Linked DNA regions of Homo sapiens: region 1 is linked to region 2. Evidence: promoter capture Hi-C in 16 types of primary human blood cells and fetal thymus (Javierre and others, 2016). All regions are on one chromosome and are shown on one strand. Each heading gives the region's core, a stretch centred on a gene start or on the middle of the fragment in contact. The rest is flanking DNA. Distances are from core to core; before and after follow the strand shown. Region 1 overlaps NSUN3 (NOP2/Sun RNA methyltransferase 3). Region 2 holds the start of STX19 (syntaxin 19).

Region 1 (3,995 bases), core at 292-2,791, 92 kb before region 2:
TTAAAGGGGAGATTTGACAAAAGAATAAATATCAGAGCTTTTGCCATGGAGGTCACTTAAATTGTTTTTTTTTTTTTTTTTTTTAGGTGGGGGGATGAGTCTTGCTCTTGTTGCCAAGACTGGAGTGCAGTGGTGCAATCCTGGCTCACTGCAACCTCCACCTCTCCAGTTCAAGCAATTCTCCTGCCTCAGCCTCCTGAGTAGCTGGGATTACAGGCACCTGCCACCACGCCTGGCTAATTTTTGTACTTTTAGTAGAGACGGGGTTTCACCATGTTGGCCAGGCTGGTCTCAAACTCCTGACCTCAGGTGATCCGCCCGCCTTGGCCTCCCAAAGTGCTGGGACTACAGGCATGAGCCACCACGCCTGGCCAGTTATATGTATTTTTAAAAATTTTGACTGTTAAGGGATAACCTCTCTAGAAAAGGTATTCCCTGAGGTTCCAGATAACTAAAATTTTATGGTATCCAGGATTTCTATACATCTCATGTATTCATTTATTGATTAAAGAGATATTTTGGGGGTTCCTACCACTGAGGGTCTTCTCATACTTCGGTGTTTGTTGTTAGTCTCTAAAAAAACTTTTTCTATGTTTCCTCTCCTCACTATTCACTGCCCTCTAAATATTCCCCATGGAAACAAAAAAGGCTCCTATCTAGATGCTGGAGATGTGAACTGCTAAAGGGATAATAAATATCCTGCGGTAGGAAGAATGAAAACCCCTCAAAGATGTCCACATCCTAATCCCCAGAACCTGTAAGCAAGCCATTTTACATGGGAAAAGGCTATGTGCAGATGTGACTAAATTAAGGATCCTGCAATGGGGAGATTATCCTGGATTATCCGAGTGGGCCTGATGTAATCACAAAGGTCCTTTATCATTGAAAGAGGGAGGCAGAGAGTTGGTGAAGATGTGATGATGGAAGCCTGGGTTGAACTGACAGGATTGCTGGCCTAGGGCAAAGAGCTCAGGTATGTGAGCTGCTTCTGAAGGCTGGAAAAGGTAAGCAAACAGATTTTCCCTTAGCACCTCCAGGAGGAACACATCTCTGCCAGCATCTTGATATTAGTCCCACAGGGCTCATTTTGGACTTCTGACCTCCAGAAGCGCAAAGGTAACAAATCTGTGCTATTTAAAGCCACTAAATTTGTGGCAAATTGTTAACAGCAGCAATAGGAAACAACTAATACACATCTAATGATGGCGTTTTTTGTTTTCTCTTTTTTTGTTTTTACAGCAACACACTAAGGTAAAGGCCAATTTGCTAAGTAAAGTTGTAACTACATTCATTTTGGATCATTTTCTACTAACTATAGCAATAGGTATAAGACTTTCTTTAAAAATGTTAGATTATTAAAATGGTATAGCCACTATGGAAAACAATATGACGGCTCCTCAGAAACTTAAAAATCAAGTTATTATGTGCTCCAGCAATTCCACTTCTGGTCATATTCCCCAAACAATTGAAAGCAGGGTCTTAAAGAGATATTTGTACCCATGTTCATAGTAGCATTATTCACAATGGCCAAAAGATAGAAGCAACCCAAGTGTCCATCAGTGGATGAACTGCCAAGCAAAATGTGTAGACAGATACATAGATATGATGAAATATTATTCAGCATCAAGAAGGAAGAAAACTCTGACAGATGCTATAACATGGATTAACCCTGAGAACATTATGCTAAGTGAAATAAGCCAGTCACAAAAAAGAAATATCACATGATTCCACTTATATGAGGCATCTAGAATAGTCAAATTCATAGAGACAGAAAGTAGAATGGTGGTTGCCAGGGGCTAAGAAGTGAAGGGAATGAAGAGTTAGTGCTTAATGGATATCGACTTTCAGTTTTGAAAGATGAAAAGAGTTCTGGAGATTGGTAGTACAACAATGTGAATGTACTTAACACTATTGAACTGTACACTTAAAAATGGTTAAGATAGCAAATTTTATGTTATGTATTTTTAAACAATTAAAAATAGAGAAATACACAATAAAAATGTTAGATTATTGTGGATATAGGCAATATTTGAATTCAGATACTTCCAACCTCCCATGAAAATGACTATTTTGGTCTTAGTTCCACAATTAGCAAAGCCAATGCTTAATCAAGTAAGTATGATTCTTTTTCATTAAAGCTGTACAAAAGTACATAGAAGCCTCATAATTTACAAACAATATGTTCCTGGCTTAATGCAAATTTAAATTAATTTCTATAATGTTGCCAATGTTGGCTGATTCTTCTGCTTACCTTTCATTTCGACATTCATAATTTATCTTTCTAAAATTAGGCAGGTATAACTTAACTGCCCACATTAATTTCTAAATGAGAAAATTGTATGTGGTAACACAAAGCCTTTTTAAAACAAATTGGGTTAATCTCAAAACCATAAGGCAAATGTTAGGGATTCCTGTCAAATGGTCTTGCTGTTTTGCTACTGCTGCATGTTGTTTAAATATCATTTTAATCCTTTTGCTTTCAGTAGTTATGTATTTTAAAACTATCAGAAATTTGTATTCAAAGATAAAGGAAGGCAGGCAATTTGTAAAAACTCACTCCTAGGGTTTATAGCTAAGATTTTTCTACTCTGAGAATTATCTTATGCTATAGATCAGAGGACCCCAATCCCTGGGCCTACAGACCAGTACCAGTCTGTGACCTATTAGGAACCCAGCTGCACAGCAGGAGTTGAGTGGTGGGTGAGCAGGCATTACCACCTGAGCTCCGGAATCTAACTAATGCCTGATGATCTGAGGTGGAACAGTTTAATCCTGAAACCATCTCCCTGTCCCCCTCCCCCAGAGCCATAAATGCCATTTTTCTTACGAACTGAACCAGACCATGTTGTGGCCTCCCACTGCTTTTGCAGAAAGTATAAAACTATCTCTATAATTACAATTTATCATTACACACTATAGTTTCTGTTAAGGCAAGAACATACAACAACTCTATAATCAGACAAGTTCAATGATTTAAAAACCAGTATTTCTGGTCTTTGTTTTCCAATCAAAATTAAAAGATGTATTTTACAATATACTAAGCAAAAATTAGCACACTACTAAAATCTAAGTACCTAAATATACAGGGCCCTGTCCATTACAATAATGTCTGGGATAAATCATCTGCTTCCATAACAATTTATACACATTTTGAAGTAGTGTACAAGAAACAAGAAATTATTATCACAGGTTTCATCCAAATCACAAACAGAGGACTGTATATGTATTTTTACAACAGTTAGATGGCAGGATGTGAGAAGGGTTGTTTGGGGGAGCAAAATGATTCACTCAAAACAAAAGAAAGATATTGCTTAATAGGTCTTAACAAGCCCACTAAGAAATTTTAAATTCTGGAGGTGGCAAAACATTTAGAGATTAGAAAGACTTGAATAATACTAATAAACTTTGGCAAAGCTGTGGTACTGACCACATAAAAAGACAAGTCAGGATTAGAGAACGAAGAAGAAAAAAAAAGACAGGTTGGGTTCTCTATGCTTGTGTAAATGTCTGTGCCATTTAGTTATTTATTATTTTTTTTTTTAAATAAGAGGAAGGAAAACTAAACAGCCAGCCAAGCAACATCCATTTCTGCATAATAGTATAGTATCCTCTATTAACCTGTCCAAATGAGCTATGGCCCCTTGGCTCCTGAATGATCCTGTGTCATGGTTTAACAAGATCCTGAGTAATGTCGTATTTGTGCTAACCACTAACTATAATGCATGAAATTATCACTAACCAAGCTGTATTAAGACTGGTATTATTCATCATTGAATTCTAATGATAACAGTAAACTTTCTAATCATACTTAAAAGTAGAAGTCAGAAAAATGTCATGACTAACAACAGTAGAAGCAAAAGTATTATTTGATCAGATTAAGTACAATGCTAACCTAATACTCTAAAATGGAAACTAGTAAACATTATCTTGGGTTTTACATATTCTTTAATATAAAATGCCCAATTATAATGCAAAGCTAGGGAAGTACTTTTTAA
Region 2 (3,744 bases), core at 595-3,094:
CAACATGGTGAAACCCTGTCTTTACTAAAAAAAAAAAAAAAAAAAAATGAGCCAGGCGTGGTGGCGTGCACCTGTAATACCAGCTACTCGGGAGGCTGAGGCATGAGAATCGCTTGAACCCAGGAGGCAGAGGTTGCAGTGAGCCGAGATCGCGCCACTGCACTCCAGGCTGGGTGACAGAGTGAGACCCTGTCTCAAAAAATAAAAATAAAAAAATATTTATATGGTTCTAAATTCAGAACTATAAAAACAAGGTACAATCAGAAAGGAACTATTTGCTATCTCTCTGCCTTTTCCTTCCCTTCCCTTATAGGTAACCATTTTCATTCGTGTTTAGTTCATCCTCCCATTATTTCTTTTTGAAAATATAAACAAGCGTATGGAGAAAATGGTATTTCAAGGACCATAATTTGGGCACTGTGAATATTCAATGCTATTGACTGGTTTATGTATTTGTGTATATATACAATATTTATATCTACCCTTCCTTTCTTCCTAAAACTTAGCATATTATATATATTCTTCTGCAGCATGCTTGTTTTAACTGAACAGTAAATTTTGAAGTACCCTGAAGCAGTATAATAAAATCTTCACTATTTTCTATAATTGCAAAATGCTCCCCTTTGAATGTTCCATCATTTATTCAGCCAGTTCTACGCTGAAGGACTTTTGTGTTTCCAGTGTTTTGTTTTTACAAAGAGTGCTATAAAAAGTAGGTGTGTAAAGGAGTCATTTCTTATTTTGAGTACAGATTCCAGGAAGTAGAACTGTTAAAACAAAGAATAAATATAAATGTGATTGGCCGGGCATGGTGGTTCACATCTGTAATCCCAGAACTTTGGGAGGCTGAGGCAGGTGGATCACCTGAGGTCAGGAGTTCGAGACCAGCCTGGCAAACATGGTGAAACCCCATTTCTACAAAAAAATTAGCTGGGCGTGGTGGCAGGCAACTGTAATCCCAGCTACTTATGGGGCTCAGGCAGCAGAATTGCTTGAACCCGGGAGACGGAGGTTGCAGTGAGCCAAGATCGTGCCACTGCACTCCAGCCTGGGCTACAAGAGCAAGACTCCTTCTCAAAAAAAAAAAAAAATAAAAAAAAAATAAATATATATATATATATATATATATATATATATATGATTTTGATAGATACAGCAATTTCCTTCTTCTTGCCCTCAAATAGTAACAAGTCAGGTAGAAAAAATGGGTCTGAAATTTGGTAGTACAAGAGAAATTTTCATTTTTAATTCTTCCTATAAACATTTCCCTCTGGTATAAATTAATTTTGAGTTGTTATATTGACAAAATAAATGATTTAACATATATTGCTGGATAACTTTAGTTCTATATAAAATTTATTTTAAAATAAAAACAGCAGGCATAATAAAAAGTAAAAAAAATTAAAAGTAACGTGGGATGAATGGTTTACAGACATGAGCTCTTTCCTGGATGTTCTCCTTCTGAAATTCTATGATTTTGTGAGCTAAGCTCTTTTGGGATTTCCTAAAATAGGACAGATTTCAACCATTTTAAAGTAAATGGAACAAAAAAAGCTTTTACACCAAGCTTCTTTTCATTCCTATTTAATTCCATATTTTTAGTAAGTTTTGATATCTATAGAAAAGAAAGTAACCTTTGTTTAAATACAAACCCATTTTCTTGGAATAATATATTACATATACAATGTAGGACTAAATTTGCAGATCCAGTGCCAAATACTCTACGTAGGCAGTTTAACGAGGACTTCCTGTTACCGACTAGCTCCAATGAAAATGATCTTCCTTTAATCTAAAGAATAGGCGTCTAACAGGCAGAACCAGATTCTCCAGGTGTGAAGTAAGCAATCTATTTTCACTTGCTATTAACAGCAAACGTACAACTTTATCTCTTATTTGACTTCATTATTTGGCTTTCAAATTAACAACATGAAAACTATACAGAAATTAGTCTGTGCCCTATAAGACAGAGATTTAGATAATTTGTTCAAAACATGAGATGATATTCAGATATTCTCTCAAAGGCAGGACTCCAACACCGCAGGTGGAAAACCAACAAAAGGAAGAAAACAGAAAGGTAAATAATGACTCTTTTCTGTACTTTTTAATATGAGGTATCCATAGACTGACATCTGGTTACACTGTTACATTTAAAAATCACTCAACAAATAATGAGGGTTACTTGTTTTGCTCAGATTTGGACCGGGGTACCAGTAGCTGATTTGTTCACATATATTACTGACATGCTGACTGGGATCTGGGTATAAAGCTCTTGAAAATAGACTACGATAATAAAAATCAACTTTAGAGGAAAGAAAAAATTTTTAAGTCTTTTAAAAAGTAAGCTCTCATTTAAAAAATACTAGAAAGTCAGATGTAAAAACAGATCTAAAATTATTTCTTTTATAGACAGACTATGAATGTGCTTACTTTAGAGAACATTTTTATATTTCACTCTGAAAAGCAGCTTATACCCAAATTTGACACATACGTATAACCTTAAAAATCTGAAATAATTTGCTATAATGGTCTTAATTGCTTCATTGTTGTTTACTAGAATCTTCTAAAATTGAAAAAATGAGAAAATAATCTTGTGAAAGGGCTACCAGAAAATATCGAAGTACTCACTAACCTTTATAATATTTCAACTAGTACATTAAAAATACTTGTTATACCATTTAACGTAAGTGTTAGCATTTAATTGATAGTTTGAAAAATTTAAATCAGCATCATTTAAATACAACATATGTAGATAGGTTAGATACTTTCAAAGTTATAATTGTTACTATGTTAGAATTTAATAAATATTCCATTTCAAATCAAAATAATAATGACTTTTATATGTATTTTAAAGGTGGACTTGAGAATTGGCCACGTAATACCTCGAACACATTATCTTCACAGCTATGCAGTTTTAAATGTAATATAAAAATCATTTTATGTATGTACAGCTTACTTGAATCAGATAAAAGTTCAAAAATTATACATCATATTTAAACAAAAATGATCTTAATGTTGTTATACAAGTTAATTCAATAAGTTATTTAGACTAAATAAAATGTAGAAAAAAGCATTGAAAGTTTACATTGCAAAAAAAGTCAGATACTTCAAAATTAGACAATATATGCAATTTGCAATTTTTTTTTAGTTTTTAGAAACTACTATTTGGCCCTCACTTTAGTAGCCAAAGAGGTTAATATATTACAATAAGATCCTCTGCTTTCACTTGCACTAGAAAAATGTGGCAAGTTGACTTCATATACAAAAGCAACAGAATATTCTGTTTTCTCTTGGGTAAAAACTGGTCATATTTCTTGAAATGTTTTATTTAATCATTACAGTAACTATGAAAAGAAATGGCCTACTTTAAAAAAATCTATAAATACACTAAGTATCTATCCCAGGGCATATTTCTAAAAGTACAAGGTAATTTTTACTCATGTTTCTGTTTCTAGGGATTTTCAGTGTCTGTAATAGGGCAGAGAACCTTTTATTTGAGTCGCACCAGTTTACTTTTCTATTTCCCAGAACAAGTTGTCCAAGTTGATTATCATACATACGAGTTAGTGTTCTTTCTTTTTTAAATATCATGTTTAAGCTCACAGATACAGTTCTTGCTAGTAAAATTCAAAACTGTATAGCAATGCTGCAAGTTAAACATAATAAAAGATGATTCATATTTGTATATAACTCTTCCAACATAATAAATTTAAGGTACATAACAGACTGCATAAAATAGTAATTTCA

Evidence for each region. Contacts are between HindIII fragments. The CHiCAGO score rates a contact against its expected background, and 5 or more counts as called.
Region 1: a contact is called between a fragment that was not itself captured here and the fragment with the promoter of STX19 in region 2, in 1 of 17 cell types (activated CD4 T cells). The highest score is 5.1, in activated CD4 T cells.

What each region holds. Positions count from the first base shown.
Region 1 is chr3:94,118,241-94,122,235 of GRCh38, reverse strand. All of the region lies in intron 5 of NSUN3 (NOP2/Sun RNA methyltransferase 3), which reads right to left. Among named protein-coding and RNA genes, the nearest start is that of NSUN3, 57 kb to the right of the region's middle. The HindIII fragment of the contact is 8,206 bases long and covers 1-3,995 here.
Region 2 is chr3:94,026,697-94,030,440 of GRCh38, reverse strand. It overlaps STX19 (syntaxin 19), which reads left to right and starts at 1,844. Exons shown (of 2, transcript NM_001001850.3): 1 at 1,844-2,074. The region is part of intron 3 of ARL13B (ARF like GTPase 13B); the gene reads right to left. The HindIII fragment of the contact is 4,986 bases long and covers 1,570-3,744 here.